Linked DNA regions of Homo sapiens: all the other regions are linked to region 1. The links are contacts of gene promoters, found by promoter capture Hi-C in human tissues and cell types (Jung and others, 2019). All regions are on one chromosome and are shown on one strand. Each heading gives the region's core, a stretch centred on a gene start or on the middle of the fragment in contact. The rest is flanking DNA. Distances are from core to core; before and after follow the strand shown. Region 1 holds the start of CCAR2 (cell cycle and apoptosis regulator 2). Region 2 overlaps PIWIL2 (piwi like RNA-mediated gene silencing 2). Region 3 overlaps PEBP4 (phosphatidylethanolamine binding protein 4). Region 4 overlaps PEBP4 (phosphatidylethanolamine binding protein 4). Region 5 overlaps PPP3CC (protein phosphatase 3 catalytic subunit gamma).

Region 1 (6,307 bases), core at 1,415-3,914:
CGTGTCTCCCTTTGTCCTGCCTGCCTGGGGTCCCACCAGCAGGTCCTCTGAGCCGAAGCTTGATGGGGTGTCTTCTGGCCCTGGCCAACCTGACTGTCTTTCTGAAGGAGCAAAGGCTGCTTCACCCCCAAAGGTGGAGGTGCCCAGTGCCAACCCTCCCAGGCTGCCAGAAACCCCAGTGGAGCCAACGTACCACTTGCCATCCTCCCAGGGACACAAGGTAGGGGACAGGTATATGTGGGGCAGGTGGTGGGCTGGGGTGGGGGGAGGGGAGGTGGGGGATGCATGGGCACCCTGGGGGCCAGCAACTCTGGGGAAATGACAGGATTGATTCCTGTTTGGAGCAGGCGACTTGTCCTGGCTGTGGCGACAGCTGTCTCTGGGAGCTTGGTCGGGGGTCTGAGTGTGGGGAGGGCTCTGGGTGACCCCTCATCCTCTGCTCAGCGGGATATCTCCCACTGGGACAAGGTCAAGGTCCTGCTCAACCGGATCTGCCGGAGAAGCCACCACCACCCTGAGCCCCCTGCCCCTCCTGATGGCTCTGACCCCAGGTGAGCCCCGTGCCCAGCCCAGGTTAGGGCACGGAGAGGAGACTGATAAGCCAGGATGCTGAGATTGTCATGCCAGTTGTCATTATTGTCCCCGCAAAACTTGAGAGGCAGTCTGGGAGGGGCTGCTAGAAGAAACAGTAGTTAAAACACCCCATTTACAGATAAGGAGGCAGGGTTCTGGGTGGGGTTGGGGGTAGTTGCTTTTCCAAAGCCGCACGGTGAGTCAGTGACAGCTAGGACCAGAATGTGGGAAATCTGCCTACCCTAGCTCAGCAACCCCTCACCCTCAATGCTGACATTTAGGCCACCTTCCAGGTTCGTGGGGAGAGCAAGGTGGAGCACAAAGGATTTCACAGTGGGTGAAGGCCATCATGCTTCGGGGCTTGTATTGAATCGTTCTCCAGGAGGAAGAAATACCAAGTCATTTAACAGCCCCGGGCTGCGCCCACACCCAGCTACCCACCAGCAGATAAACCACGTTCTCTCAACTCTAGGGCCATTGTTAGTTTTATTTCCCCCTTCTAGCCTAATGTCTTCTTTTCATTCCACAGGATCGAGTCCAGGGACCTCCCTGAAAGGCCTCAGTGCCGCCCCCACCGGAAGACCTTTATGCCATCATTAGTGGTTAAGAAGCAACGAGCAAAAAACCTTTCTGTAGGCTGAGACCTCTCGGTGCACCTGGTGACCCTGGGTGGAGGGGACTTGCTGTGAAGTCTTCCTCGCCCTCTGCCCTCTTGCTGCTTCTCCACATTGCCAGGAAAAGCTGCTGACGCCTGCCCTCCTCTCTTGAGTCGAGGGCTGAATCTTTCTCCTCTAAGCAGTCTGGTCAGGAACCTTGGTTTCTTGAGAGGCCCCCAAGATGCCGCAGCTCCAGGGCTCTTCCTCCTCACCAGAAATCCCTGGGCTTCCACAATGTGAACTCACTCATTGTCAGGTGTCCGTGGAGTGTTTTTGGCATGGTGACCTGTCTGGGCCCAGCATGTTGCAGATGTGTATTTATGCGCAATGGTATGCATATCTCTGTGTGACTGTCAGTGTTGCAAGCTGGCTGGATCCAACCATCTCTTCTGAAATAATGCATCCAAAGGGTTGATATTCTGGGGGAGGTCACTGCAGAAGGATGGAACTGACCTTTATTCCCCAGTGGGCAGTTACTGAGCTTTCCTCCTCAGAGCCATGCTGGCAGCCCTGGGACAGAGAACGGTGTGGCTTTGGCTGCCTCTGCATGGAATCTTGCCCCGGACTCCTGAAGACTGCACAAGGAATGAGGAAGATCAGGGACAACCTGGGAACTGAATAACTTTCAAAGCCAGTGCTCAGCTTCTCTGCTCCGTACTAGCGTTTACAGGTCTTAATTCAAACCAGATGCCTGTACTAGTTTTTAGACCCCAAGTCAACCTTTCTGAGCCACAGCTTCCCGCTGGGAATAATGATGCCTGCCCTATCTACCTCACAGACTTGTTATGAGGATAAAGTGAGATTAAACTGCCTCAAAGTGCTTTGTAAACCTCAGGTGAATAGGAAAGGGGAAAGTAAGGCTGGAGTGATGATGGGGAGGTCGGAGGATAAGGGGGGGCTGGGATTGCTAATGGGGACTAAAATGGCCAGTCTCCTGGCAAGATTTTGAGCAGGTCATTTCATTGAGGCCTCTTAGATTTCATATTTGAGAATTAGGGCACTGATTCCTGACTGGCTAGGCATGGTGGTCACTGGCTTGAGTCAGACCAGGAATGTCTCTTAGAAATGGTCACTGATAGGCATCCTTCTCCTCCAGTCAGGAGGGGCTGGTTTCCTTATCTGTTGCAGTCTCGACTGCCAGAGGGAGGCGAGCGTGGTAGGCAGTCGGGGGTCCCTTGTGTTTGGGGGGCCCAGCTCCCGCTTCCTTTGAGCCCGGAACCAATGATCCGAAGCCTTCTTTCCTGATGGGATTCTTTAGCGAGGACACTACCGAGGCGCGACTTCCTGACGCGCATCCGATCCGGGAAGGCGCACTTCCGCTCCCCAGTTGCCGCGGGATGGCAAGCCGGCGTGGGGGAAGGGAGAGGTCGGCGGAGACGAGGGAGGGACCATATCCGGGAGAGCGGCAGCTTCCGACCAGTGGTCGCGCTTCCGGAGAGGCGCTTCCGGTGGCGGCGGCAGCAGCGGCTGTGGTGGTTCCGGGTGTCTTTGTCCCCCCGGTGTCGCTGCCCTGGCCCGCAGGTGGGTTGGGGGGCCCCCTGCCGCCCCTCTGCCCCTTCGCCCCTCCGCCCCTCCGCTGGCCGAGGGGCTGCGAGGGCCGGGCGGCGAAGATGCGTGGGGCGCGGAAGGGGCCGAGCCCCTCTTTGGACTGCAAGTCCCGTCTCCCTGGCAACGGCCTCGGCCTTGGGGGCGGGCGGGAGGAGGAGAAACCGCGCGCCTCAGTCCTCCCTTGGTGGCCTCGCCGCGGCTCTGCTGGGAGACCCGGCGCTGGCGGCTGCTGAGGCCGGAGCGGAGGGCCCGGGAGCGTGGGAGCAGGAGGGTGGCGCGCAGCCGGTTTCGCGTTTGGTCGGCCAGGGAGCTGCCTTCCCACCAGCCGGTCGAGGAAACAACGGGTCGGGCTTCCGGGGAGAGGGCCCACACAGTCTCCTCGCCGGCACCGGCCTCCTCCATTTTTCCGGGCCTTGCGTGGAGGGTTTTGGCGGATGTTTTTGAACGAAGGAATGTCATCGGGGCTCTCTCGAGCCCCTCACCCCGCCAGCTACTCTGGGGGTGGCGTGGCATAGTGAGAGGAGCGCTAAGTTGTTGGGAGGCCTGGGTGTGAGTAGCAGTTTTGTCACTACCTGGTTATGTGGCCCCGGGCAAGTCTCTTGATCTCTCTGAGCATCAGTTTCCTTGTCTGTAAAACAGCATGACAGTATCATGCACCACTAGGTTATTGTCAGGGCAAACTGGAACAATGTAATTTCTTGTTTCATTTCTTTCTTCTCTATATTCTCTCCATCCATTGCTTTCATTCATTCTTATTACCCACCTCCCTGTTTTCCGAAATATCCTTACTTAAGATTCTCCACTTTTCCGGGTATAGATGGAAATTTCCCTTATAAGCTGTTAATTTCTTTCTTTTTGGATTGAAGCCTTTTCCCCACGACTCTGAAAGAGGACAGCGTTCCCAATGTCCCAGTTTAAGCGCCAGCGGATCAACCCGCTTCCAGGGGGACGCAACTTCTCAGGTGATCACTGTTCTCCCTACCTGGCCTCATCCTGGGAAGTATGTGCTCTGGAGTTAGTTTGGGGTTTCCCTGGTGGAGAGCAATTTGCTGCTGATGTTCCTCTGGAAAGCAGGAGATGCCCACAGTGATTGCCAGTGAAGCTCTGTGGAGGAGCTGGCTGGAGCTGTAGCCTTTGGATTTACCACATCCTTTGGTTGACTCGTGCTTAAGGTGGTAGGGGCGGTTCCTGGAGATTGCTTCTCTTTCCCCATAGGCACAGCTTCAACATCTCTTCTGGGCCCTCCTCCTGGTTTGCTCACTCCTCCTGTGGCCACAGAACTGTCCCAGAATGCCAGGCACCTTCAGGTAGGTTCGGCATCCCTTGTAGTAAGTTTCAGCCCTTGGGACTGAATGCATGGAGGCCTGGTGCTCTTTTTCTCTTACATAATAGTGTTTATCATTCCTGATCCCTCTCCTGGTAGTGGGCTAGTATGGGGTTGCCCAGATAGCCTTCAGACTGGGGCATCTTCATTTCTCGCTCCAGGGAAATCTTTAGCTTACGTCTTGGAATTAATGAACTGGAAATCCCAGAAGAAGCTTGTGGGTCAAGAACCAGCTCAAACATGCCCCAACCCCTAATGATGGAGTATGCCCACCACACCTGTACTTCACTCTGTGCGAACTCTTGATGCAGTACGCTGAGCTGGGGCGTGGGTTGAGATGAGACCTTCATGGCAGAGTGTGATTTTGTCCAGTTTCCTCCCTTTTACTTTTCAGCTGTCTCCTTCTCTTACAGGGTGGGGAGAAACAGCGGGTCTTCACTGGTATTGTTACCAGCTTGCATGACTACTTTGGGGTTGTGGATGAAGAGGTCTTTTTTCAGCTAAGGTAGGCTTGAGGTTGGTCCCCTAACGGAAATGCTTATTGGATTCAGTTCTGTCACCATGCTGGTATTGCCCCCACCCGCCTCAAAGCCATTGCTTTGCTGTTTTTGTGCAAGGTGTGGGAAATCTTGATGGGAAAGGCCTCATAGGGGCAGTCAGGGTGGCCTGGCCAGGGTCCCTCTTCTGATGGGGCCTTCTGGCTTGTGTGCTGACAGTGTGGTGAAGGGCCGTCTGCCCCAGCTGGGTGAGAAGGTGCTGGTGAAGGCTGCATACAACCCAGGCCAGGCAGTGCCCTGGAATGCTGTCAAGGTGCAAACGCTCTCCAACCAGGTATTCATATCTCCTTAGCATGTGCATTGGAAAGGGAAGGGATGGAAGCCCCTGTGCCCTGACAGCTGGGCAAAACCCTGACTTTTGTCAGGGGGGTGGGACTGCATCTTTCCAAGGTAGTGAGTGCCTCAACCATGGGGTCCCCTGAATTTCCTGGCTCCTGTTCTGCAGCCCCTACTGAAGTCCCCAGCACCTCCTCTTCTGCATGTAGCAGCCCTGGGCCAGAAGCAAGGGATCCTGGGAGCTCAGCCTCAGTTGATCTTCCAGCCTCACCGGATTCCCCCACTCTTTCCTCAGAAGCGTGAGTACGAGTGGCACTGTTGTTGGGTGTGGCATTATGGGGTAGTTTAGATCAATGGACTTTCAGGTTGCTGCTCTTAGCATAGAGGTGGGTACTTCTATGTACTGGAAGAAAGGTGGGCAATCTGGATAGGTGTTTAGGGTTTTTTTTTTTTTTTTTTTTGATGGAGTCTCGCTCTGTTGCCCAGGCTGGAGTGCAATGACACGATCTCGGCTCATTGCAACCTCTGCCTCCTGGGTTCAAGCAATTCTCCTGCCTCAGCTTCCCCCGTAGCTGGGATTACAGGCGCCCGCCACCATGACCGGCTAATTTTTTTTGAGAGAAAGTCTTGCTCTGTCACCCAGGCTAGAGTACAGTGGCGCGATCTCGGCTCACTGCAAGCTCCGCCTCCTGGGTTCACACCATTCTCCTGCCTCAGCCTCCTGAGTAGCTGGGACTACAGGCACCCACCACCATGCCCGGCTGATTTTTTGTATTTTTAGTGGAGACGGGGTTTCACCATGTTCGCCAGGCTAGTCTTGAACTCCTGACCTCAAGTGATCCATCTGCACTGTCCTCTCAAAGTGCTGGGATTACAGGTGTGAGCTATTGCACCCGGCCGGTTTTTAGGGTTTTTGAGTCACCAGTCATTTCCTTTCTGCAGCTCTGAGTCTCTTCCAAACATCCCACACACTTCACCTGAGCCACCTGAACAGATTTCCTGCCCGGGGCCCTCATGGACGGTTGGATCAGGGCCGAAGGTAAGAGGATGATGTCCCTTTTTTTGGCCACTTGTTGACACTAACATTCTCTTTATTTTATTATTATTTTTTTGTGTTGGCCAGGAAGTGAACCCAGGTCAACTGCTTGGAAGGTGGCTATGCTTACCACTAACATTCTTTGCCTGCAGCTAGATCCTAGTCCCTTTTCTGTGAAGTATGTAGACACAACTGAAATGTGTATAAAAATATTGGAATTTTATACAGTGGTTAAGCAAGCAGGGAGTTGATACAGTTCATCTTTCAAAATGTCATGTTGAGATACTTCTTAAATACTCTTCTGTTTCTAGTCCCTAAGTTGAGATGATAGGAATGG
Region 2 (6,307 bases), core at 2,478-4,977, 250 kb before region 1:
CTTTGGGAGGCCAAAGTGGGAGTATTGCTTGAGGCCAGGAGTTCAAGGCTGCAGTGAGCTTTGATCACACCACTGCACTCAGGCCTGGGCAACGCAGTGAGACCTTGTCTCTAAAAATAATAATAGTAAAGTAAATAAAAGGATGAGTTTTATGGTATTTCGAACTATATTTCAATAAAGCTGTTCAAAATAAAAAGCACTCCTCCACCTCACAGCTTTTTAGTTCCCGTGGTGGAATCAGCAGCCCTGCCAGGGAAGAATGCCTTCGCATGCTTGGCTGATTCCCCTGGGCCCCATCCTTCCTCCTCTGATGCTGGGATGCATCTAAGGCCTTCGCAAACTACATGTTTTCATATTTTGCCCAGCTTTTCCAGTTGTCCTGAGTTGTAGGGCTTCTCAGAATTCATGGTTCACCACCTGAAGCCTCCCAGACAGTCTTAAGCTCACATGTGATTTATTTAATATCTGTATTTAGATTTGTAGCTCTAGTTCAGGAGTTCTCAAAATTTTTGATATTAGGGCCCCTTTATATTCTTAAATATTATTGAAGGCCCCAAAGAGTTTTTATTTATATGGATACATATCTGTCAATAATTAGCATATTAGAAGGTAAAAATTTCAATGTTTATTAATTTACTTAGAAATAACAATAAGCCAGGCATAGTGGTGCATGCCTGTAGGCGCAGCTACTCAGGAGGCTGAGGTGGCAGGATCTTCTGAGTTCAGGTGTTTGAGACCAGCTTGGGCAACATAGCAAGATCCATCTCTAAGGAAAATTTTTAGTTGGGCATAGCCGCTCGTGGCTGTAATCCCAACACTGGGAGGACGAGGTAGGAGGAGCACTTGAGCCCAGGAGTTCAAGACCAGCCTGGACAACATAGACCTCATATGTATAAAAAAATTTTTAAGTTAGCTGGGTATGGTAGTATATGCCTGTAGTCTCAGCTACTCAGGAGGCTGAGGTAAGAGGATTGCTTGAGTTCAGGAAGTTCAGACTGCATGAGCCATCATCACACCATTTTACTCCAGCCTGGGCAACAGAGCAAGACGTTGTCTCAAAAAAAAAAAAAAAAAAGTAGCAAATTCAGCACATTAACATAATTTTTTTTTTTTTTTTTGAGACAGAGTCTCACTCTGTCACCCAGGCTGGACTGCAGTGGTGTGCTCTCGGCTCACTGTGCAAGCTCCCCTTCCCGGGCTCACGCCATTCTCCTGCCTCAGCCTCCCGAGTAGCTGGGACTACAGGTGCCCGCCACCACACCCAGCTAATATTTTTGTATTTTTTTAGTAGAGATGGGGCTTCACCATGTTAGCCAGGATGGTCTCAATCTCCTGACCTTGTGATCTGCTCGCCTCAGCCTCCCAAAGTGCTGGGATTACAGGCGTGAGCCACTGTGCCTGGCCTTTTTTTTTTTTTTTTTTTTTTTTATTTGAGACGGAGTCCTGCTCTGTTGCCTAGGCTGGAGTGCAGTGGCATGACCTTGCCTCACTGCAGCCTCCGCCTCTCGGGTTCAAGCTGTTCTCCTACCTCAGCCTCCTGAGTATCCGGGATTACAGGCGCCTGCCAGCATGCCTGGCTAATTTTTGTATTTTTAGTAGAGACGGGGTTTCACTGTGTTGGCCAGGCTGGTCTCAAACTCCTGACCTCAGGTGATCCGCCCACCTCGGCCTCCCAAAGTGCTGGGATTACAGGTGTGAGCCACCACTCCTGGCAGACTCATTCTTCATGCCTTTTCCTGATACATTTCTCCCTCCAGGGAGCAAATCTCTTACACTCCTCTGTTGCCATAGCATTTATATCTTTATTATGTTATTTATAATATATTGAGGGCATTTATGCGTCTGCCTCCCCTTTTTAATTTGAGTTCCATGAGGATCTGGATAGTATTAAAATAATGTTTTAGCTGAGCACAGTGGCCCACGCCTGTAATCCCAGCACTTTTGGAGGCTGAGACAGTGAGGCACATCACTTGAGGTCAGGAGTTCGAGACAAGCCTGGGCAACATGGCGAAACCCCATCTCTACTAAAAATACAAAAATTAGCCGGGCATGATGGCGGGTGTCTGTAATCCCAGCTACTCGGGGGCCGAGGCAGGAGAATCGCTTGAACCCGGGAGGCGGAGGTTGCAGTGAGCCGAGATCACACCATTGCACTCTAGCCTGGGTGACTGAGCGAGACTCCATCTCAAAAATAATAATGTTTTAATTTTCTGAGATAAGTGCAGTGGCTCATATCTAGTGGATGTGAAGTATTTGTTCCGTGAATGAATGGAGCCACACATAAAAACATGTCAAACACTCAGCAGATATTTTTTGCCTAACTGACCCTTGCCCCTCTGCGCAGTGCTAAGGGATACTAAAATTAATAAACACAGTGTTGCTTTCGAGAACATTCATTACTTACTGTTTCAAGTATCTACTGAGTACTGAAGTGGTTTTTATAACATACATTTAGGAGTTCCAACCTGGGCAACATATTGAGACTTCGTCTCTACTATAAATAAAAAAATTAGCCGGGCTTGATGGCACATCCCTGTAGTCCCAGCTATGCTTATAGTCCCAGCTGCTCAGGAGGCTGAGGCAGGAGGATCGCTTGAGCCCAGAAGGTTGAGTGACAGAGCAAGACCCTGTCTCAAAAGAAAGAAAAACACATTTAAGAGTTATGTTTCAGCCTTGTGATTTGTCCTATATTCTGACTCATCCCTCAATCATAGTTTTATAACTTACAAAATGAAGAAAATAGACTAGATGACCTAGACAGCTTAACATTGTTGATTATTTTTAGATTTTTCAGCTCCTTGATTCCTTTCGGTTCTGTTGGAGGCCTACCTAGGGCTGAGTGTGGTGCCTTGAACTCAGTGGTTAGTTGGCAAATGTTAAAGAAGGAGGTGATGCCAGTAGTTACCAAAGTCAAATTTGATTTCTATTTTTCTTTTTTCTTTTTTTTTTTTTTTGAGATGGGATCTCACTCTGTCACCCAGGCTGGAGTGCAGAGGCACAAACTCTGCTCACTGCAACCTCTGCCCCCCGGGTTCAATGCACGCCACCAGGCCTGGCTTATTTTTTGTATTTTTAGTAGAGACGGGGTTTCACCATGTTGCCCAGGCTGGTCTCAACCTCCTGACCTCAAGTCATCCGCCTGCCTCAGCCTCCCAAAGTGCTGGGATTACGGGCGTGAGCCACACTGCACCCGGCCTTCTATTTTTCACTCCATTGATTTATTAAGTCCCTTCTTTGTGCTTCGGAATATCTGTATATCCTTGATCTAGCTCGGTCTCAACTTTTGTGTACAATATATGTGTGTGTGTATATATATATATATATATATATATAAATTTTACTTTATCCCTTTTAACAACCCTGAGAAGAAGGTGAGATGATCATTTTTCTTCACTTTTCAACTGAAGAAATTGAGTCTTGAAGGTCACAGCTAAAGGAGTAGCAGAGTCAGACTCAGTCCCAGGTCTCCTGACCCCAAATCCACTGTACTGTCTGTTTCCTTGTCTGTCAAATGAGGGTTTCTTCCAGATCTGAGGTCCTGGGTCACCTGCCTTTTAACACAGCGAGTTAGTTAGGAGTCTTTGGGAATTAACAGGAACTGGTAACTTGAGCAGAATAGAAATTGGCAGGATCGTACAGAGGCTCAGAGGATTGGTGAGAAGGTGGAGCCCCAGGCTGGTAAATGGGCATGATTCAGGCTAACTCCTGGGGTTTCAGAAGCAGGGGCCTGAAAAGGCACTGCCATTGAAGGGCCAAACTCCACTGTTTTGCATTCTCTACTCAAGATGGAAGCAAGGGAGGAGCAGTCTGTTGGTGTGGCTCGAGTCGTCTACACATCCTTTGGTTAGTGAAGTGGTTCTCAACTGGGAGCAATTTTGTCCTCCCAGTGGGTGATATATAAAGGCGTTTTTAGTCATAAGGGTGAGAGGTTGCTCCTGGCATTTACTGAATAGAGGCCACGGATGATGCTAAATGTAGATTCTGCAGTGCACAGGACAGCCCTCTAGGATGAAGAATTATCTACCCACAAATGTCAGTAGAGCTGACAGGTTGGGAAACCTTGGGTTGGGCTAGGGCACGTTGACTAATAGTCCCACCAGACTATATCTTGTTGGGGGCAGGAGGAAACTCAAGTGCTATTACTGAGAAAAGATGGAGTAGATGCTGGAAAGCCAAAAAAAATTTTTTTAAGGGTACTACAGGCCAGGTATGGTATCTCACACCTGTGATCTCAGCACTTTGGGAGGCCAAGGCAGGCAGATCACTGAGTCCAGGAGTTCGAGACTAGCCCAGGCAACATGGTGAAACCTCCATCTCTACAAAAAATACAAAAGTTAGCTAGGCATGGTGACACAAACTTGTAGTCCCAGCTACTCAGGAGGCTGAGTCAGGAGGGATGGCTTGAGCCTGGGAGGTGGAGGTTGCAGTGAGCAGAGATGGTGCCACTGTACTGCAGCCTCGGCAAGAGCATGAGACCCCATCTCAAAAAAATAAATAAAAAGTACCACAAACTGGTGCAATCTGAGACTGTGAAGATGAATTACATACTTGTAAATGTAGTGCTTGAGGCTTCTTAGGAAAAGGGGTCATTAATATTTGAAATTCTGGGCCAGAAGTGGTGGCTCATTCCTGTAACCTCAGCACTTTGGGAGGCTGAGGGAGGAGGATTACTTGAGGCTGAGAGTTTGACCAGCCTGGGCAACATAGTGAGACCCTGTCTCTAAAAAATGTTTTTAAATAAAATTAGGCTGGGCGCAGTGGCTAACGCTTGTAGTCCCAGTACTTTGGGAGGCCAAGGTAGGCGGATGACCTGAGGTCAGGAGTTTGAGACCAGCCTGCCCTACGTGGCAAAACCCCATCTCTACTAAGAATACAAAAATTAGCCAGGCATGGTGGTGCACACCTGTAGTCCCAGCTAGTCCCAGCTACTTGAGAGGCTGAGGACCAAGAATTGCATGAGCCTGGGTGGCAGAGATTTCAGTAAGTCAAGATTGCATCACTGCACTTCAGCCTGGGCAACAGAGCGAGACTCTGTTTCAAAAAAAAATAATTAATTAATTAACTGGCGTAGTGACAAGCACCTGTAGTTCCAGCTACTTGACAGGCTGAGGCAGGAGGATCTCTTGAGCTTGGGAGTTTGAAGCTGCAGTGGCTATGATTACACCACTGCAGTCTAACCTGAGCAACAGAGTGAGACCTCAATTCTTAAAAAAAAAAACAAATTGAAACTCAACTTTTTAAAGGGATTCTAAGTGCTTATTTTTTTAAAGTATTCTTGGAAATCACATTTTCATGTAGAGTAACCTGTAAGGAACAGTGCATACATACATATATATATATATATATATATATATATATATATATATATATAATTTATATCTAAACCTAATTCATAATTTAGGTTTTTTTGGTGTTTTTTTTTTGTTTTTTTGTTTTTTGTTTTGAGACGGAGTCTCACTCTGTCACCCAGGCTGGAGTGCAGTGGTGCAATCTTGGCTCACTGCAACCTCCACCTCCCAGGTTCAAGCAATTCTCCTGCCTCAGCCTCCTGAATAGCTGGGACTACAGGTGTGCACCACCACACCTGGCTAATTTTTGTATTTTTAGTAGAGACGAGGGTTTCACCATGTTGGCCAGGGTGGTCTTGAACTTCTGACCTCAGGTGATCCACCCACCTCGGCCTCTGAGAGTGCTGGGATTACAGGCGTGACCCACCGTGTCCAGCCCATAATTTAGGTTTTTGAGGGTAAGTATGAACACAAACTTAGAATGAACCACACTCCACTAGAATCAAAACTGAATTAAACTAAAGCACTTTTAAAGGGAACTTCCATTTTAAGTTGAAGTGAACTTACCCTCTTGAATTTTGTTGCCCAGGCTGGAGTGTAGTGGCACAATCTCAGCTTGCTGCAACCTCCACCCCATGAGTTCAAGTGATTTTCCTGCCTCAGCCTCCCAGGTAGCTGGGATTAGAGGCATGTGCCACCATGCCTGTGTAATTTTTGTATCTTTAGTAGAAACAGGGTTTCAGCATGTTGGCCAGGCTGGTCTTGAACTCCTGACCTCAGGTGATCCACCCGCCTTGGCCTCCCAACATGCTGGGATGACAGGCGTGAGCCACCGTGCCTGGCCCTTCTTGAATTATTGAAGTTGAACACAACTAGAACACAATTATATTCCCTAAATGGGGGAAAAATTATTCTTCAAATTGCTTCAAGCAAGCATTTAATTTAATTTGGACCCATAGACAATTCACATAGCTAGCTGTTTGCTAATTACTTAGTTACAGTAAAAATGTTTTACTGTA
Region 3 (6,307 bases), core at 2,176-4,675, 250 kb after region 1:
GTATTATGTCCCTGGAACTCAGCGTTAAATCAAATGAGAAAGAATGTCCTTATGCGTGGGGAAGACCTTCCCAATGATGATATCAAAATCAAAATTATAAAGGAAAAAGACTTATTAGACTATGCAAAAAGGTACAATTTCTCTACATAAAAATACCACAAATATAGTAAAAAGCAGCCAGGCATGATAGCTCACGCCTGTAATCCCAGCACTTTAGGAGGCCAAAGCGGAAGAATTGCATGGGCCTAGCAATTTGAAACCAGCCTAGACAACAAAGTGAGACCCCATTTTTACAAAAAAATTTTAAAAATAGCCAGGTATGGTGGTGCACGCCTGTATTGCCAGTTACTTAGGAGGCTGAGGCAGGAGGAGGATGGTTGAGCCTAGGAGGCTGAGGCTGAGGCTGCAGTGAACCATATTTGCATCACTGCACTCCAGCCTGGGCGAGGGTGAGACCCTGTCTCAAAAAAAAAAAAAAAAAAAAGGAAACCTAATATAATAAAAAGCAAACAAAAGACCAAGAAGATATTTGTAACATATATGATGAAGGGGATAATATACCTAATGTACTAAAAAGTCTGACCAATCAGTAAGAAAAAAGTCTAAATAGAAAAAATGGGCAACAATGGAGAGAAAAATCACAAAATAAATACACATTGCCAAAAAGCACATGAAAAAATAACCAGCCTAATTTATAATCAATTAGGGTACTATTTTTTACTTGTCAAATTGGTAATTATTTTAACAAATTCTAAAATACAGTGTTGATGAAATGTTGACAGTATGATAATAGAAATTGGGTTAACTTTCTTGGGGCAAATTTGGCAATGAATATCAAAAACCTTGAAAAGGGCTGAGAGAGGTGGCTCACACCTGTAATCCCAGCACTTTGGGAGGCCGAGGCAGGCGGATTACTTGAGGCCAGGAGCTCGAGACGGGCCAGGCCAACATGGCGAAACCCCGTCTCTACTAAAAACACAAAAAGTAGCCAGGCGTAGTGGTGCATGCCTATAATCTCAGCTGCTGGGGAGGATGAGGCATGAGAATTGCTTAAGCCCAGAAGAAGAGGTTTCTGTGAACCGAGATTGCCCCATTGCACTCTAGCCTGGGCAATAGAGGGAAACTGTCTCTAAATAAATAAATAAATAAATAAATATATAGAAAAATAAAAAACCTTGAAAAGGTGCATACCCTTTGATCTATTAGTTCCTCTTCTAGGATCTTACCCCCAGAAATTAAAAATAAAGTCAAAGATTTAGGCCTCAGTTTTCCTGACACCAAATTATTTATAATAGTGAAAGAAAAACTTCCCCAGAAACAACTCAATGTCCAACAAAGGGGAACTGATTAAATGAAGGAAGATAGAGTCTGAACTCCACAGAACACAATTCAGCCATTAAAAATGATAGGTGAGTGTTTGATGACATGAACTGATGCACTATGATGTTAAAAAAAAGCACAAAATTATAAGCCAGTCTGTGAAGTAAGATACAATTGGTAAGTATAAAAATGTAGAGGAATTTATACCAAGATATTAATACTGGCTTATCTTTTAGTGTGGGAGTAGGGACATTTAATTTTTTTCCCTTTCTTTAAAAAAAAATCTGGGTAGTCCAAATTTTTATAGTGGACATTTCCTACTTTAAAAAATGAAACCTACACACACACACACACACACACACACACACTTACTCACTCACACATTTTGGTTTAATATCCTGAGGCAGTTTACAGAGAAAGCATCTATACCATACGGGGCTCCATCACCTACCAATGCTATACCCTTCTCTCAGCCTCTTGCTCCCCATCACCCATTCCAGAAAACACTTGTGGCCAGAGCCAAGTTCTTGAAGGACCGCCAGGAGTGGAAGACTCAGTGCACAGTATATTCTGGCTTTTAAGCAGTGAGTGAGATTCACAGCAAGCAAACAGCAGAACTGGAATTGGAAGCTAAGATGACAGCAGGCCAGAAGCTGGCCTGGTTGGTAGGGTCCTTGAACCCAGGACTGATGTAACGAGTCTTTCATCTGAAGTCACAGGAGAACCTGAAGTTGGGGGAGCAAAGAGAGTTGATTCTGGTGGGATGCAGAGTCCAGGACCAAAGAGGGAGGTGGAAGTGGGTTACTAAATGGAAAAGCCAGAAGCCAGCATCGAATACTGAAGCATTCCTCATAAGCTTTTCTCTCTATCTATCTGACTTTGTATATGACATGGTTAAGGCAGCATACCAAGTCAGGGAGCAGTGAGCCATGGAGAAGAACAGGGGGCAAGGGATGGGGAGCAAGAGGAGAGCTGTCCATGAGAACTACCTGCAATAGTAGGAATTGTCCGTCACCTGACTTACATGCCCCTGGTGCATGGTGTGTTGGGCGATGCTTCACGGACCGTCCATGGGGCAAACTCTTAGTTGTTAACCCAACCATCTCCTCCACCACTTTTCAGAGCGTGGGGACCATGGGGTAGAATTCTTCTAGGTGACAAGGGCTGAGACATTTTGTTCTTGCTGCTATTATAACTAAGGCGGGGTCCTCTCCATGTCCCAGTGAGAAGGGATAGCTTCAGCAGCACCCACAGACCCAGCTAGTCAAAGAGGGATAGTGTGGGTGTTGAAATGGTGAAAGGAATCGTTCAGCTTCCTGCATTTCTTCTTAAGTTCCTTTCTCAGATGTTGGGCAGCAAAATAGTGACGGCATCTGAGGAGTGTAGCTGTTTTTAGCAACGTGGCTTAAGAAAGGAGTTAACATGGCCTTAATGAATAACCACAGGTTAACCCTTATCATCAATCTCAGAATGAGAATTTCCTTCTTCTCTTTTCATTTTGGTAAATGCAGAGATAAGGAGCATACAGAATATATCCTCACTGTCAAATGCTTGGCCCCAGCATCCTGGGAAAATGCAGAGTATTAAGTATCTCATCCTGTTACTCAGATTTCAAAGTATGGCATTCTCTCTATCCCATTCATTTTCTCAATATTCTTAGAAAGCAAGAAAGGGATAATTAGACTCATCTTAGAGATGAAAAAACTGAGACTTTGAGATGACAACTGAAGCCTAAAACTCTCATGTTAGATAAATAACAGAGGCTGGGCCTGGTGGTTCATGCCTGTAATCCCAGCACTTTGGGAGGCCGAGGCAGGTGGATCACTTGAGGCCAGGAGTTCGAAACCAGCCTAGCCAACATGGTGAAATCCCGTCTTTACTAAAAATATAAAAATTAGCTGGGCATGGTAGCGGGTGCCTGTAGTCCCAGCTATTTGGGAGGCTGAGGCAGGAGAATCGCTTGAACCTGGGAGGCAGAGGTTGCAGTGAGCCAAGATTGCACCACTGCACTCCAGCCTGGGTGACAGAATGAGACCCTGTCTCAAAAAACAACAATAACAAAACAGAACTACACAGAAGGGACTACCTTGTGGTCATCTGGTTTGGACTCCATTTAGAAGTCAGCATGGCACGGGTGTCCCCATAATACCCAAACACTTCAAAAAACCCAACATGCGGAATTCCAAGATGTCATAGACCAGCTCATTTCTACTTTCAATAAGTAAACCTTTGTCTTAGGCTGAGAGAAGCCCAGCCTATAAAGCAAACTACGGCAGCACCTATCTACCAGGGAGCACTATCACATGGCCATCAGACTCCCCCCGTGGAGCCTGCACCCCAGGAGAAAGTCAAAGATGGAAAATCCAAGTGGCTTCTGAGGCAGAGCCAGTAATTCGCCGAGTGTTGAGCTTGCAGCACTGAGGTTGCTTACAACTATTCAATTGGAAAAAAGTCAGACTCATCAGGCTGGAATCTCATTAGTTTCCCTTAGTGAGCTGGAGCTTGAATACTCCAGGGGGATCAGTCCAAAACAAAGCCAGCAGAGGAAGCAGCCAGAAGTGTCCAGGTGCAGTGGGCTGTCTCTGGCCCAGGTGAGATGAGCCTCGGGACCTATTTAGAAGAAGAGGTTGGGTTGGGATAGAACTGAGATAGCAGCTTGGCATACTGGCCCACAGAGTACCTGTGACGGCTGTCTAGTAGCCAAGATTGAGAATATTAGAAGACCCACTTCAGCAATGTATGAAATCAAAGCCCACATTTTAAACTCCACACTCCCTGACACGGCATTTGAGGCCCATCTGGTCTCCATCTTGCCTCATCTCCTATTATGTCCCTCCTCGTACTTTAACTTTGGGCCCTATCAGTCCAGCATCCTTTCCTTGCATACAACCTACACTCTTATGCCTCTCTATCTTGCCTTACATCTTTGTTTTTGTAGATCCCTTCCCAATCTTTTTAAAAAATATTGTCTTTGGGAGGCTGAGGCAGGAGGATCACTTGAGCCCAGGAGATGTCTGTCCCTGGGCAACATAGGGAGACCCCATCCCTACAAAAAATTTAAAAATTAGCTGGGTATGATGGTGCACGCCTAAAGTCTCAGCTACTCTGGAGGCTGAGGTGAGAGGACCTCTTGAGCCCAGCAGTCAAGGCTGCAAATGAGCTATGATCATGTCACTGCACTCTAGCCTGGGTGACAGAGTGAGACTCCGTCTCAAAAAAAAAAAAAAAAGAAAAAGAAAAAAAATTATATATACACATATATATGTATATATATATACACATATATATGTATATATATATATACACATATATGTATATATATATATGGTGCCAGAATACACATATCATGCAATTTGCCATCCTAACCATTTTTCAGTGTCCAATTCGGTAGTCTTAAGGACATTCACGTTGATATGCAACTGATCTCCAGAATGCTTTTCATTTTGCAAAACTGAAACTCTTTACTCATTAAACGACTCCCTCTTCCCTCTCCCCCCAGCTCCTGGCAACAACCATTCTGCTTTCTCTCTATGAATTTGACTCCTCTAGGTATCCTGCCTAAGTGGAATGGTACAGTACCTGTCTTTTTGTGACTGGCTTATTTCACTTAGCATAATGTCCTCAAGTTCCATCCATGTAGTAGCATGGGCCAGAATTTCCTTCCTCTTTAAGGCTGAATAATCTTCTACTGTGTGGATATACCACGTTGTGTTTATGCATTCCCATCTTTTTTGCCCTCTCAAAATCTGACTCTATCTTCAAAGCTTAAAACCCAGGATACGTACTCCGTGGAGCTTTCCTCAAGACCCTCCGTTACAAGTTAGTCATGTACAAAGATCTTTTGAGCATCTGTTCCATGCTAGGCAACAGGGACACAAGGATGAGTAGCCACAGTCTCTCCTGCACGGTCCATCCAAGCCCAGCTTACTGAGCACACTGCAGGTGACTCGGTGACAGCCCTGACTGTCCATGTTCATGACACACTGTGCTGCCACGAGGTCTACTTAATGGTTTCTGTATTAGTCATCTCATTTGTAAGCTCTTGAGGACCCGGGCCACATCTGATCTCAGTATCCCCAGTGCCCAGCACAGTATATTCAACATAGAAAATGCTCAATAAATATTTGTTAAAATAGAATTAAATTTGCATTCCTTGGAACGTAGAGCTTCTTGACTTCTAAGTGACTGGCCAGTTGACACAATAAGCTGGAAGTCAGTGCCCACTTATTGCCAGAGCTGTTACTTGGTTTTTGTCCAGGGCCTCAGGTTTTGATTCCAAGCCTTCACCAGTGGAGTGGGGAATTTTATAAAAGAATTTCACTTTAGCCTACTGAAGTCAGCAGAGGGAGAAGTGGAGGTTCAATTTGCCCTATTACAGCTAATAATAATAGCTCAGACGTTTTGTGCTCTTTCCATGTACCAGACTTCCCAAGTGCTTTCCATAGACTAATTGAATCCTCACAACAAGCCTAAGAGATAGGTTTTTAGCTAGGATAAATAAATATCGACTACTATCCCCATTTCGCAAATGATACAACTGAGGCCCAGAGAGGCTACACACCTTACCCGCTGAATACAGAGGAAATTAAGTCATACGGCCAGAATGCAAATGCAGGCGGGCAAACTCCCAATCCTATGCTATTCTCCTGGACTTTCTGTGGCAAGATTTGACAGAGATTACATTGAGCAGAACTCACTGGAGAATCTCTTTAAAACATTAAAAGGGGGCCTGACCAGGGCTCTCTGATGTCAGGGATCTATTTTCTGTTTTGGCTCTCGTTCTGAGTCTTGCAGCCCATCTGGATTCTGAATTTCCTTAGGTCCAAAGGATGTCAACTTGATTAAAGAGAAATATCAAGAACTAAGAACTTCTCTTGACAGAGAGGTATGGGGTAGGGGTGGTGGACAGGAGAAAATGAAAAGAAACAGAAAATGGGTTCAGTTGCCACTTATAATAACCTAGTCTCAATCTTGCGCTTTAGCGATA
Region 4 (6,307 bases), core at 1,480-3,979, 210 kb after region 1:
AGATGCTGCCCACCCTTCTCCCTCTCCCCTCCCCCACCGCCAACCCCCTCGCTTCCTAAGAGCATCTGCTCAGGGGTGGGTGTCTGAGGCTCAAAGGACAGTGAAAAGCCCGGGTTCCTCATGTCAGGGCAAGGATGGATTTGGGCTGTTGGTCTTATACATTTTCTGGCTTTGCCCATGAAGGAGTGCCAGGAGCCACCAGCTGCCCCCTCAGAGCTGAGTTCAGAGTTGGGTGAGCGAGACTGTGCTGTTCCCTTTGGGGTGTCTCATGGAGGGGTGTGTGTGTGTGTGTGTGTGTGTGTGTGTGTGTGTGTGTGTGTGAGAGAGAGAGAGAGAAAGAGAAAGAAAGAGTGAGTTTTCTGCCTGATCCAGGAATTCTCCTGGATGGCAGAATTGGTTTCCATAACGACTTTCTGATATAAACATATTTGATAAAAATAAGTTAACAGTGGAGCTGTGGTGGAGCACAGAATCTCAGAGTGCTGAGAGAGAGAGAGAGAGAGAGAGAGAGAGAGAGAGAGAAACCTCCTAGAAGAACAGCATTTTCTTTCTCTTTCACCCCACCTAGTCAGCCTCTCTATACACGCTTGCCATAAACCAACGAAAAAGCTTTGTTTACAATATTCCTGTATATACTGGCTCCCTTCCTGCATGTATACCTTATTCATATCCGCACTCTCTCTTTCTTTCTCTCTCTCTCTCTTTCTCCTTAGTTACCTGAAGCACTACAGTATGTATGGGATAATATGATAAACTCATTTCCAATTCACTGCATTATCCCTTGAATATTTTAATGACTCATTGAATGAAGTGAAAAAAAGCTATTTCAAATGAACAATTATGCTGCATTAGTCTAAGGGCTGATTATATTTAAACACTGCTCACATGGATAACAGGACACAGCGACCTCAGCATACGAGAGCTAATTTGGCTCTTATCTCCAAATAATTTCACATCGCAAATTACCATGAAAACCTAAAGGGCTTTAAAAACATTCATCAAAAGATAATATTCCGCTTTGTAGCAACATTTTATTTAAATTATTTTGAATGGGAGCAAAAGCATCTCTAGGGCGGGACAATGACAGCAGAGTGGGACTGTGAGTGATAAGGAGATGGCAGGGGCACTGGCTTCTGTTAAAAATAGAGGTGGGAAATGTTGGAGAGGAAGGGGCTGCAGCCCCAAATGTGGGCAGTGCACCATAGGCCTGGCTGTCACTTGCAGCCCAGCATCACACCTGGGCTGTGGCCTGGGACGGCTCCAGGGAGTCTGCTCTGGTTCAGGAGGTCACAGGGGATCCCTAGAGGTGGAATGATGGGACTGACCAAAGGCTTCCAGGCTCCAACACGCTTTGGTTTCCTCAAAAGCCAGCTGGGGTCACGTTAGGTCCTCCAGGCTGGGCCTGGACTCATCTAGTTTCAAAGGGCAAAAGGATGAGCTGTGTTGGGCACTGTCTAGAATTTTCACTTTGCAAGACTTGAGTCCAATTGTCTAAGGGAGTTTGCTAAATCATAAGTAGCTGCTATGGTCAGATGTCAAAGTTGGGGGCTGTAGGGGAGATAATTACATTTACCAAAGTCCTACTATTCTGTGTCAGAAGACTTAATCTCATTGAACGCTGGGAAATAGATATTATCATGCCCATTTTAATGATGAAGAAACTGAGCCTCAGAGGCTTCTCCTCTTTGCATATGTAATTTCCTTTTTCCTTGTCTCCACTCTGAAGAGTGAGGATTTCTGTCAGTTTCACAGAGGCAAAGTTGCAGTCTCAGAGAGGTCAAACAACTCGCTCAGCAGTGGAACCGATCACTCAAGCACAGGTGTCCTGGCATGTGCTACCCACATAACTAGAAAGCAGGGAGCCATAATTCTTGCCCTGTTTATTGGATTTCCCATTATCTTATTCACCTAATGTACTTAGAGGTCCTTCCCACCTGGAAGCGGCAGAGCCTGGAACCTCCTCTAGTTCATCTGACCCAAAGTCCGAGCTCTTTCCCTTTCCCTTCAGGGTGGCCACATACAAGTCTGGTTAATAATCACCTGGTTTATGGCCACCTCTGTGCTGTCTCCATCAGCAAGCACTCTTTATGGCCCATAGAGCTGAACCTACATGTTAGGAAGCCTAAGTCACGCCTTTTAGCTGCTTATTAGTTAAAATGGATCCTCACAGTACAGGTCAAAGCATGCATGGGAAACTGCACAAATATCAGTGGCAAAACTGCAAATACAGCTCTAAAGACAGAAGTCATTATTAATCCCATCTCCTTGGTTTGACCTCTTCATCTGAACTTGCAGGCCTGATAAAGATTGTTTATTCTGTTTATTATCATTAGTGTGGTTCTGGATATATAGAAAATGAGATTATATCATTATTTTTATATCGATATATTTAAATTTCTACAGGCTCTGCTGCTCCATTGATTAGGCACAAGGATACACGTGCCGCTTCCTATAGTGCCTCTCTCTAGGGACGCTTCTCCTCTTTGCATATGTAATTTCCTTTTTCCTTGTCTCCACCCTGAAGAGTGAGGATTTCTGTCAGTTTCACAGAGGCGAAGTTGCAGTCTTAGAGAGGTCAAACAACTCGCTCAGCAGTGGAACCGATCACTCAAGCACAAGTGTCCTGGCATGTGCTACCCACATAACTAGAAAGCAGGGAGCTATAATTCTTGCCCTGTTTATTGGATTTCCCATTATCTTATTCACCTAAAGCACTTAGAAGCCCTTAGGAAAAAACCTCTAATTATGGAAAAATTTAACCCTACAGAAAAGTAGACAAAATAATGACCCTTTAGAGACTCTTTTAATTCAACCCAGAATTGGTTGCATTTACAGTTGCCAAAGGTTGAGGGCACTGAATGAAAGGGAACCATGAACTTGCCAATTTCCTTTTCTTTCTTAAAACAAAAAAGATATTCAGGGCAAATTTTAGAATCATTGACGGTTTCTAGGAAGATTTTCTTTTTTGGAAGAAAAAAGATACTCTTGTCTCCTTAATTGTTCTTAGTGTTCTTTGTCACCAATCATGATATTCTTTGTGGAAAGTATTAATATACCATCTTCCCGTGTTCAATATCCCCATTAACAATAAAAAGTCTAATGAAAATATCTGCATGAAAAGCTCTGAACACTAACTTCAGAGACAAATAAAAGATGCACCAATAAGTGTTTCTTTGAAAATGAATGATGCAAATTAATTGATATCCTAATGAGCTTTCAGCATGAAGATTATTAGTTAGATGGAGTCAGAACTGAAGATCATCTTTAAGGAAATGCTAAGGACACTGCAGTCGGGGAGAAAGATGTTATCTGTCAATGCTCAGTTAGAAATCGCTCTTGCTCAATGAGAACTTTTCAAAGAGGGAGCCAAGTGGGACAGCATACCTTATGTATCTGTCTCTGCCTGTCCTAGCCTGGCCAGGTTCGGAGACTGGAGCCTAGTCCTGTTCCTGAGTTGATGGAAACCCACAGGTATAGGAAGTTCCACCCCAAGCCAGCCTCTGGGGGTCTCGTAATACCACCACTGTGCTGCAGATTCCTTCCTTGGTCTCTAGAATAGAAGCCCTGTGAGGGCAGAGCCTTCCTCAATTTTGTTTGCGTTTGTGTCACCAATGCTAACCTAGCTGCCTGATTTACAGCAATAATAATATAAGAGCAAGTAATGATGTAGAGTTTACTATGTGTTCTGGGTATTGTTCTGAGCACTATCCTTAAAATAATTCGCTTAAGCTTCATAACAACAGTGTGAAGTAGGCACACTACTATCTCCAGCTTACGAGTGAGTATATTGAGACACAGAGAGGTTGAGCAACTAGCCCAAGATCACACAGCTAATAATGGTAGATTAGGAATTCAAACCACAGCAGTCTGGCTCTGGAGTCCTTGCTCTTAACCACTGTGCTATACTGAATAGTGTTCTATATATATTTCTTGAATTAAACGAACAAAGGGGTACCATGAATTAATGCCCGGTCCCTACTGCCAGGCATCTAACTTTTGGCTTTTATTTAAGTTATCCAAAGTTCCAGAGCTTTATCCTACTCCGTACTAAACCCTGCCAGCCCCTCTTTGGAGTGGAGGTGGGGGGTGCCACAGATATTTCTTGTATTCCTAAAAACTCGTTGCTGTCCTGTTTCAACCCAGATAGCCTGTCAAAAAATTGTCCCTACTGAAGGGTTCCTATGGCCATGGCCTGATCAACCATCCAGTTAGACCTGGCCCCCTAATATCAGGGTCAGCTGAAGTTCCACCAAGTTTGCTTCTGTGGTCATTGTGAACCACAGGGCCATGGTCCCTCTCTGTCTGCAGAGACTTTATGGCAGGCTTTCCTACTAAGGCTGCTTGGGTAATGATGGTATTTAGGGTGTAGTATTATGGGGTCCAAAACACTTACCTAGTGTGTTTTATTTAACAAGATAGTATTCACTGGGGACAGTTCCCTGGAAGCATCTACCCATAAAGGATAGTTAGAAAAAGAACTCTGGGAGTGAACCGGGGGGTGGTGGAGGGAACCACAGAGATGATGTCTTCCTTGTTATAGAGAGGGGATAGTGGCTCCTTGTCCTAGTGGAGTTGATGGGAGAGATGTGATGTGAACTCAGGCCACATGGTACGGCAGGAAAGGCATGTGACTTGGGGTTAAGGGACGCGGATTGAAGACTCACCTCTCTTACCCATTAGCTAAGAGATGGCATCATTCAACTTCTCTGGGCTCTGCTTTCCCCATCTATAAAATGAGGATTATGTCTATTTCACAAAGTGGTGTTGAGTTTCAAGAGTTTTAAAAGTGCTTTTCGCTTGAAAATTGCTCCACAAATGAGTGATGTTAAGAACGACCGAGGCATCCCAGCTCTATGGTCTTCCTTCAATCTGCTCAACCCCTCTGGATGCTTGTTAAGCCAGAATGCCGTGTTCTCCCCAGACCGACCGAGGTGGAAGTTCTGCGGGTGGGGTAGTGCCTAGGCAGCTGCATTTTAACAAGCTCGTCTGCCAATTCGAATGCACTCAACTGTTTGAGACCCACTTAGCAGTGGTGAACACCAACACAAAGGAAGTACTCTGGGTTTGATCAGAGCCTTCACTTCCTCTGGTCGAGGTCTAGAATCTGAGACCTAAATGAATTTGGTTGACACCGTCTCTGTGGCTGGTGGAATTTTGGGGAAGGTGGGCAGGGCCAAGTGGATATCGCTGCCGCTTCCTGCTGAACACTCACGAGGGAAGCAGTGCAAATGTGACGGAAACCCGCGCCTCCTCCGGCCTGAGCGGGAAGGCCGAGGGCCGCACCCGGGCAGGTGGCACTGGTAAGCTCTGTGGCTTAGCAGCCTTGCCGGACAGCTGCCACCTGTCACCTGCCACCTGTTCTACTTCTAAGCTGGGCTGCTGAGGCTAAATTCATGTTCGTTGTACAGAGCTCCTGTGAGAGGTCCCTTCTGAGTATGGGGGTAAGGGGAGTGCAGGAGTCGGGGGTCTTCAGGCTTGGAAGAGAGGCAGCCTCATGGTCCCAAGTCCTCTCAATTCTGAAGTCATCCCACCCTAACTGCTTTTGCACTCCGGCCTCAGGACCGCCGAGCAGAGCTCCTAACAGGAAGCCCTGTGTGCCTGGGGTGGCTGTGAATGTGACCTTCAGGGCAATACTTCTCTCTTGAGTGTTTCACCCCTGAGACCGCTGGGGAGGCCTAAGTTCAGAAAATGACAACGCTCTAGCCTTGGGGGGTGAGGGGGAGATGCCAGTTCTTTCTCTTTCATGCCCACTGCTCCTCTCCCCTTCCTGATGGCTCAAACCTCCCAGCTCTGTCCCTTTGTGTGTTTATGGTGTTTGGCCAGGGAAGTGTGTGGAGTAACAGAGGTGGCTCCAGCACTGCCCACGAAGCTGCTGCTTGGGTCTCCCTTGAGGAAGCCCCTTCCAGGGCCATAGGCAGGGCTGCCTCTAAGGATGCCTGTCCACCTGAGCTCCGTGGGAGGGGCCCCGGTCACTGGGCCACCAGCTGGTTGCCAGGGTAACTACCCTCTCACCCCCCTACTCCCACCCAGTGGCTGCGAAAACCCTGCCTTGCTCAGGATAGTCACAAGCTAGTTCAGATTTAAACCCCTTCCTCCACCCACAGTTCTAGAAGGAAAAACATAAACTCTTCATAGTTGCAGAATTATTTGTTTTCCAAAGTGCTCTCATAAGTCATTGGCTCATCATGACAATCACAGCAAGTCAGCAGCACATTTCCCATATTACAGAGCAAGATGAAATGCCCAGAGGAGCCGACAGAGGTCACTGGGTTGGTAGCCAGCCAAGGTCCAAACCACATCCAAACTT
Region 5 (6,307 bases), core at 2,154-4,653, 140 kb before region 1:
TGGTTTTTAGTAGAGATAGGGAGGGTTTCACGATGTTGGCCAGGCTGCTCTTGAACTCCAGGCCTCAAGCGATCCATCTGCTTCATCCTCCCAAAGTTCTGGAATTACAGGCATGAGCCACTGCACCCAGCCCAAGTCTCAACTTTCTCATACACTTAATTGATTTCTGTAGCTATCGTTGATTTCCCCCTTTATAATCTTCCGTACTTACAGTCTGAACCATACAATGTACTGCTTAACTATTCTGTGTTTATATCTTGTTTTATGCGAATTCTACTCAACTAGAGCATATGATTCTTCAAGGTAGAATAAATGTGTTAAACTTGTATATTTCGGCCGGGCGCAGTGGCTTACGCCTGTAATCCCAGCACTTTGGGAGGCCAAGGCGGGCGGATCACCTGAGGTCAGGAGTTCGAGATCAGCCTGGGCAACACGGTGAAACCCCGTCTCTACTAAAAATACAAAATTAGCCAGGCGTGGTGGCACATGCCTGTAATCCCAGCTACTCAGGAGGCTGAGGCAGGAGAACCGCTTGAACCTGGGAGGCAGAGGATGCAGTGAGCCGAGATCGTGCCATTGCACTCCAGCCTGGGCAACAAGAGTAAATCTCCGTCGCACCAAAAAACAAAAAAAACAAAAAAAACACACAAAAACAACTTGTATATTTCACACATTACCCATACAATGTGAGCATGTAGTAGGTACCAGATAAACATTTAGTTATTTAACTAGAATATAATTACTGCTCTAGTATTTTTTCCCTAGCACTTTCAAACGTTACTCAAAGAATCCTTCTAGCTCTTTGATACAAATTTTAGAACTTCACTATTAACAAATATCAGCTGGGCTCGGTGGCTCACGCCTGTAATCCTAGCACTTTGGGAGGCCGAGGCAGGCGGATTGCTTGAGGTCAGGAATTTGAGATCAGCCTGACCAACATGGTGAAACCTTGTCTCTACTAAGAATACAAAAATTAGCTGGCCGTGGTGGTTCTCAACTGTAATCCTAGCTACTTGGGAGGCTGAGACAGGAGAATTGCTTGAACCTGAGAGGCAGAGGTTGCAGTGAGCTGAGATCATGCCACTGCATTCCAGCCTGGGCAACAGAGCGAGACACCGTCTCAAAAAAAATAAAAATAAAAATAAAAATAAATAAATAAAATAAAGTAAAATAAAAATATATATATATCACTACTAGCTAGGATTTTAGGAAGGCTACCTATAGAAACTTAGATATATTTAGTTATGGAATGTTTTGTTTTTCAGTTGGTAATGTACACTCTTTCAGTGTTTCAAAGGAGGATACTGGATAATTCGATTTGAATTGTAAATCTCCCCAACTGGTGTTGGAGAAACCAGAGGAGTTGATGATTTTATACACAGTCTTTCCTACCTCTTATTATTGAGAAAAGAGTGTTAATTGTGGTCAATGAATTTCTTCAAAGTTTGCTGCTTTTAAATCAAATTAAGGAAGTCAGCAACTATAAGTAGAATGATATGAATAAAATGTTTCATTGTTATGAAGAAGTGTTAGTAGCACGTGGCATTATGTGTTTCACATATTGAAGTTGACACCAGAAATATACATTTGTAATTTTTTTTTTTTTTCTGAGACAGAGTCTAGCACTGCTGCCCAGGCTGGAGTATAGTGGTGCAGTCATAGCTCACTGCAGCCTGGAACTCCTGGGCCCAAGTGATCGTTCCGCCTCCACCTACACCTCCCAAGTAGCTGGAATTACAGGCACATGCCACTGTGCCCAGACCATTTTAGTGATTTGTTATTTTTTAAATCTCTATTCTCTTTTTAATACAGAGCTGCAAATTTCTTACTTTTCTTTAGTGCAATCCATGTGTGAAATATGTGTTATAATTTGTAACTAACAATATTTGAAGTCCTGAAGTTTTTGAATGATCTTGTATGTAAGATTAGAGTAGATTCATGGTTCCCACTAATAACCACTTCATTATTATCACTTTGTTATGTGTGTGTGTGTGTGTGTGTTTAAAGAGATAAACTTATAGGTGGTTTATCTAGAATTGTGTAAAATACTTTCATTTTCATGAGAGAGTATCTTGCATGTGAGTATTATTTGTCACATGTTATGCCTACATTGTTGGTTGGACTTAAACTTTAGTGACCTCTCAGAGATTATTTTCATTCTAGTTCATGTCATATTACTTTGATATATGTATTAAGAAGAAGTACAAGAGATTATTTAATGCTATTGTCTGAATGTTTGTGACCCCCCAGAATTTGTATGTTGAAATCCTAATCCCCAATGTAATGGTATTAGGAGGTATGGTCTTGGGGAGGTGAAGTTTTTATAAATTTCTAAAAGAAAGTATAGGAAAAATCTTTGTGACTTTGGGGTAGACTATTTTCTTAGATAGGTCATAGAAGGCATGAACCATAAACGCTGACAATTGGACTTTTGAAAAATTGTTCTTCTAAAGATGTTTAAGAAAATGAAGAGGCAAGCCACAGAATGGGAGAAAATATCTATACTGCATTAGTGGAGTTTACTACTAAATTAAGAAAACATTAGAAGATTGTCTATATAGTATAACTGATTATAAAATAATGTATTTACATATTTAAAATATTAAGATATATACTGACATCTTAACAGTAGTTGTCTTTGGCTGGTGAGATTCTAAGAGTTTTGTTTTTGTGGTGGTTATTGTTTTTTGTTTTGTGCTCTTTTAAAAAATTGTTTTGCCTCAAGTGTATAGTATCTTTGATTTATAAAAATCTTTAAATAAAGATAGGATAGTTTGAAAGATTAGCAGAATGTTTACAATCAATACTTGATACTACATGGATAATACTTTCCTATTCTATTTTTGTAAATTCTGTGCTTGAAAATTTCAAAGAATTTTTTGTGTGTGAGTGTGTGTTTTGAGGTGGAGTCTCGCTATGTTGCCCAGGCTGGTCTCAAACTCCTGTCCTCAAGTGATTTTCCCATCTTGGCCCCCTGTAGCATTGAGATTACAAGCATGAGCCACCATTCCCAGGCCAAAACTTTCGAAACTTTAAAAAATAGCATGAAAACCTTTATTTTAGTCCAGGTGCAATGGCTCACATCTGTAAACCTGGCACTTTGGGAGGCTGAGGTGGGAGAACTGCTTGAAGCCAGGAGTTTGAGACCAGCCTGGGCAACATGATGACACCTGTCTCTACAGAAAATTTAAAAATTAGTCAGGTGTCATGGTGCATATCTGAAGTCCCAGCTACTCTGGAAGCTGAGGTGAGAGGATTGCTTGAGGAGTTCGAGGCTACCGTGAGGCATGATCAAGCAGCTGCACACCATCCAGCCTGAGTGACAGAGTGAGAGACCCTGTGTCTAAAAATGAAAAAAGAAAATCTTTACTTTATTTATTTATTTTTTGAGATAGAGTCTTGCTCAGTTGCCCAGGCTGGAGTGCAGTGGTGTGATCTCGGCTCACTGCAACCTCCACCTCCCAGGTTCAAGTGATTCTCCTGCCTTAGCCTCCCGAGTAGCTGGAACTACAGGTGTCTACCACCATGCCCGGCTAATTTTTGTGTTTTTAATAGAAACAGGATTTCACCATATTGGCCAGGCTGGTCACGAACTCCTGACCTTGTTATCCGCCCACCTTGGCCTCCCAAAGTGCTAGGATTACAGGCGTGAGCCACCGCACCCAGCTGAAAATCTTTACTTTATTTACAGCACTTTGTGAGCCATATTTAGCAAACATAGTTCCACATATGAAGTTTGTTTTTAATGATAAGGGGTTTTTAAACTTGATTTTTAGTATAAATACACAGTATAATAAAAGTTTGTTTACATTAGATATGAAGCTAATTACCACCCCTAACTGCTGGCTGGTTTTCTAGAATTGTAGAAGCAGGTGGTGAATTTTCCTGTCTGCTGATATCCAAAACACTCTGATTCCTGGGTAAGTTCCAGCAGTATTGGATGTTGGTAATATTACTGTTGGTCGATTAATTTATGATAGTATTATATACATCTCTAAAGTCTAATTCTATGTATTTTTTAAGTAAATAGTAGAATAACATGGCATAACATTTTAAAAGGTATGTGGTAAAAAGTCTTCCTATTCCTAACTGTCAGCCACCAGTTTCCTGCCATGGGACTGTTAAATCTCACCACCAAAGACCACCAAGAAAACATCTGTAGTCAAAAATAAGTTACACTGATTTAGCTTGCTGCAGGAAGGAATAACATACATCAGAAGAGCTGTGGGACCTCTCAAAAGGATAGAGTTAGGAAAGAGGACATACAGGATTTTAGGAGCTGTTAGTCACAGAGTAATGTTAGGATAAAGGTAGTAGTCTGGGCAGGGATTGGCTAGAATATGTAATTTGAGTGAGTTGCTGGAACAGCCAGTAGTTTTGCCTCTAGGACACATAAGTCCCTGAGGATTTACTGTTAGATCAGTTTGTGGTACTAGAACATACGGGTATGAGTGAGCTGATATTAATAAAGGTTTGAGGCTGGGCACAGTGGCTCACACCTTTAATCCCAGTGCATTGGGAGTCTAGGATGGGAGGATCGCATGAGGCCAGGAGTTTGAGACTAGCCTGTTTAACTTAGTGAGACCTCAGTCTTTAAAAAAATTTTTTTAAAATTAAAATTAACTGAGTGTGGTGGCACACACCTGTAGTCTTAGGTACTTGGGAGGCTGAGGGGGAGGATCACTTGAACTCAAGAGTTGGAGACTGCAGTGAGCTATGATCATGCCACTGCACCCCAGCCTGGGTGACAGAGGGAGACCCTCTCTCTTAAAAAGAAAAAAAATAAGGTTTGAGCTTAGATGGCCTGTGATGCACAGTACATTGCGGTTTGGTTTGGTTCAGTTTATCTGTTTTGCAAGTACTAAGTGCTTTTCTGTGCATCTGCAAGCAATTTGTAGTGTAATTTCAGTTTTGTTTCACTTTTTAATCTCTGTTTCTGATCATTCGTCCGCTAAACTGGAACATTTACCATTTAGGGGAGGTGATCAATCAAGATTTCAAACTGTCGTTTGATGGGTTGTGAATGTTTATAAAGCTTTGATGGTAGACATTTTGGCCTCTACAGGCACCAGGCCATTTTGTTCTTTTTTTTCTTTTTTCTTTTTTTTTTTTTGAGACGGAGTCTTGCTCTGTTGCCCAGGCTGGAGTGCGGTGGCACGATCTCGGCTCACTGCAAGCTCCGCCTCCTGAGTTCACACCATTCTCCTGCCTCAGCCTCCTGAGTAGCTGGGACTACAGGCACCCGCCACCATGCCAGGCTAATTTTTGTATTTTTAGTAGGGACGGGGTTTCACCATGTTAGCCAGGATGGCCTCGATGTTCTTTTTCTTAGATGATAATTTGTTGAATCAGCTGGTGTGACAGTGGCTGCACAGCAGCATTTAAGACTCTAAAGATCACACACTTGGCATCTGCAACACACTGAAACTCAGACAGTTATTATTAAAGTTTAAAATAATGTCCCATATATCCCATAATCTATTTGGATTTTCCTTTGGGCAACCAAATATATTTTTTTTCCTTTAATTTGGATATGGGTCATTCACCTTTGCAACTGTCCCATATTTGGTTTATATTTTGCCAAGGATAAGCATCTTGATAGTGCTAACAGTAAGGAAAAGTTATCTGTTAGCAGCCTAAAATCTTACAACAGTGGAGAGAGAAGAAAATGCCAAGAGAATAAAGGACAAAATCATGCAAGTCTGTAGTCATCAGTGGCTTCTGGCATCTGGGAGGTTGTGTTCTGATTATCTTGGACATAAATAGTCTATTCATTTTATCTTCTGCTTCTGGACCATAACAGTTCTGGAAATCTTGGCTCACCCACTGTTTGTCCATGGCAATGATGTCGGCAGTATGCATCATTAATTTATTCTCTGTAGTGTCAGTAATGGGTGCATGATACAAACATTTACAAAAGTTCTTTTGATAAGTCTTCCACAAGGCTCAATTCCTATCTTTAGCTTATAGCCAGGAACTTTAGATGAATGTAAGGAAGAAGCGGAAACCACCTGTGGATCATGGGACTATAGGCTTTAGTTGATTTATTATATTAACCAGCATTATCAGAATGGAAGGGAGTGGAATCTTCTATTGCAGAAAGTACATAATGAATTTTATGAGTAGTCACTGATTATCCTAGAAGTAAGAATATCTCACAAACAGGGAGGACATTGACAGTCTCTAGGACTTTCTTTCATTTATCCTATAAAGTGTATTATGAGTTTCACCATTCCAAGTTTACTGAAACCTAGAAATAAAATCCTTTTTTAGATAGCTATTGTGGCAGTCTTTGTACTCGAATGTA

Evidence for each region. Contacts are between HindIII fragments. The study calls those that stand out against the background at their distance.
Region 2: a contact is called between a fragment that was not itself captured here and the fragment with the promoter of CCAR2 in region 1, in 1 of the 25 tissues and cell types used here (lymphoblastoid cells).
Region 3: a contact is called between a fragment that was not itself captured here and the fragment with the promoter of CCAR2 in region 1, in 6 of the 25 tissues and cell types used here (aorta, lymphoblastoid cells, mesenchymal stem cells and 3 more).
Region 4: a contact is called between a fragment that was not itself captured here and the fragment with the promoter of CCAR2 in region 1, in 2 of the 25 tissues and cell types used here (lymphoblastoid cells and mesenchymal stem cells).
Region 5: a fragment that was not itself captured here is called in contact with the fragment with the promoter of CCAR2 in region 1 in 1 of the 25 tissues and cell types used here (hippocampus).

Annotation. Positions count from the first base shown.
Region 1 is chr8:22,602,093-22,608,399 of GRCh38, forward strand. It overlaps CCAR2 (cell cycle and apoptosis regulator 2), which reads left to right and starts at 2,665. Exons shown (of 21, transcript NM_001393997.1): 1 at 2,665-2,750; 2 at 3,644-3,739; 3 at 3,993-4,084; 4 at 4,515-4,606; 5 at 4,818-4,932; 6 at 5,104-5,233; 7 at 5,877-5,973. The coding sequence starts at 3,682. It overlaps C8orf58 (chromosome 8 open reading frame 58), which reads left to right. Exons shown (of 7, transcript NM_001013842.3): 5 at 108-220; 6 at 445-551; 7 at 1,103-2,050. The coding sequence ends at 1,214. LOC107986876 (a long non-coding RNA gene) reads right to left here and starts at 2,908. Exons shown (of 1, transcript NR_160769.1): 1 at 1,041-2,908. RefSeq lists enhancers at 1-71, 2,383-2,492, 2,499-2,999 and silencers at 2,663-2,962, 3,023-3,082. The HindIII fragment of the contact is 3,664 bases long and covers 2,187-5,850 here.
Region 2 is chr8:22,346,113-22,352,419 of GRCh38, forward strand. All of the region lies in intron 20 of PIWIL2 (piwi like RNA-mediated gene silencing 2), which reads left to right. Among named protein-coding and RNA genes, the nearest start is that of SLC39A14, 18 kb to the right of the region's middle. The HindIII fragment of the contact is 6,194 bases long and covers 631-6,307 here.
Region 3 is chr8:22,855,584-22,861,890 of GRCh38, forward strand. All of the region lies in intron 3 of PEBP4 (phosphatidylethanolamine binding protein 4), which reads right to left. Among named protein-coding and RNA genes, the nearest start is that of PEBP4-AS1, 19 kb to the right of the region's middle. The HindIII fragment of the contact is 5,295 bases long and covers 779-6,073 here.
Region 4 is chr8:22,810,394-22,816,700 of GRCh38, forward strand. All of the region lies in intron 4 of PEBP4 (phosphatidylethanolamine binding protein 4), which reads right to left. LOC105379325 (a long non-coding RNA gene) reads right to left here. Exons shown (of 2, transcript XR_949584.2): 1 at 4,665-6,307; 2 at 1,012-1,412. Among named protein-coding and RNA genes, the nearest start is that of PEBP4-AS1, 64 kb to the right of the region's middle. RefSeq lists a silencer at 1,703-1,881. The HindIII fragment of the contact is 6,165 bases long and covers 1-5,812 here.
Region 5 is chr8:22,457,476-22,463,782 of GRCh38, forward strand. All of the region lies in intron 1 of PPP3CC (protein phosphatase 3 catalytic subunit gamma), which reads left to right. Among named protein-coding and RNA genes, the nearest start is that of PPP3CC, 20 kb to the left of the region's middle. The HindIII fragment of the contact is 5,055 bases long and covers 877-5,931 here.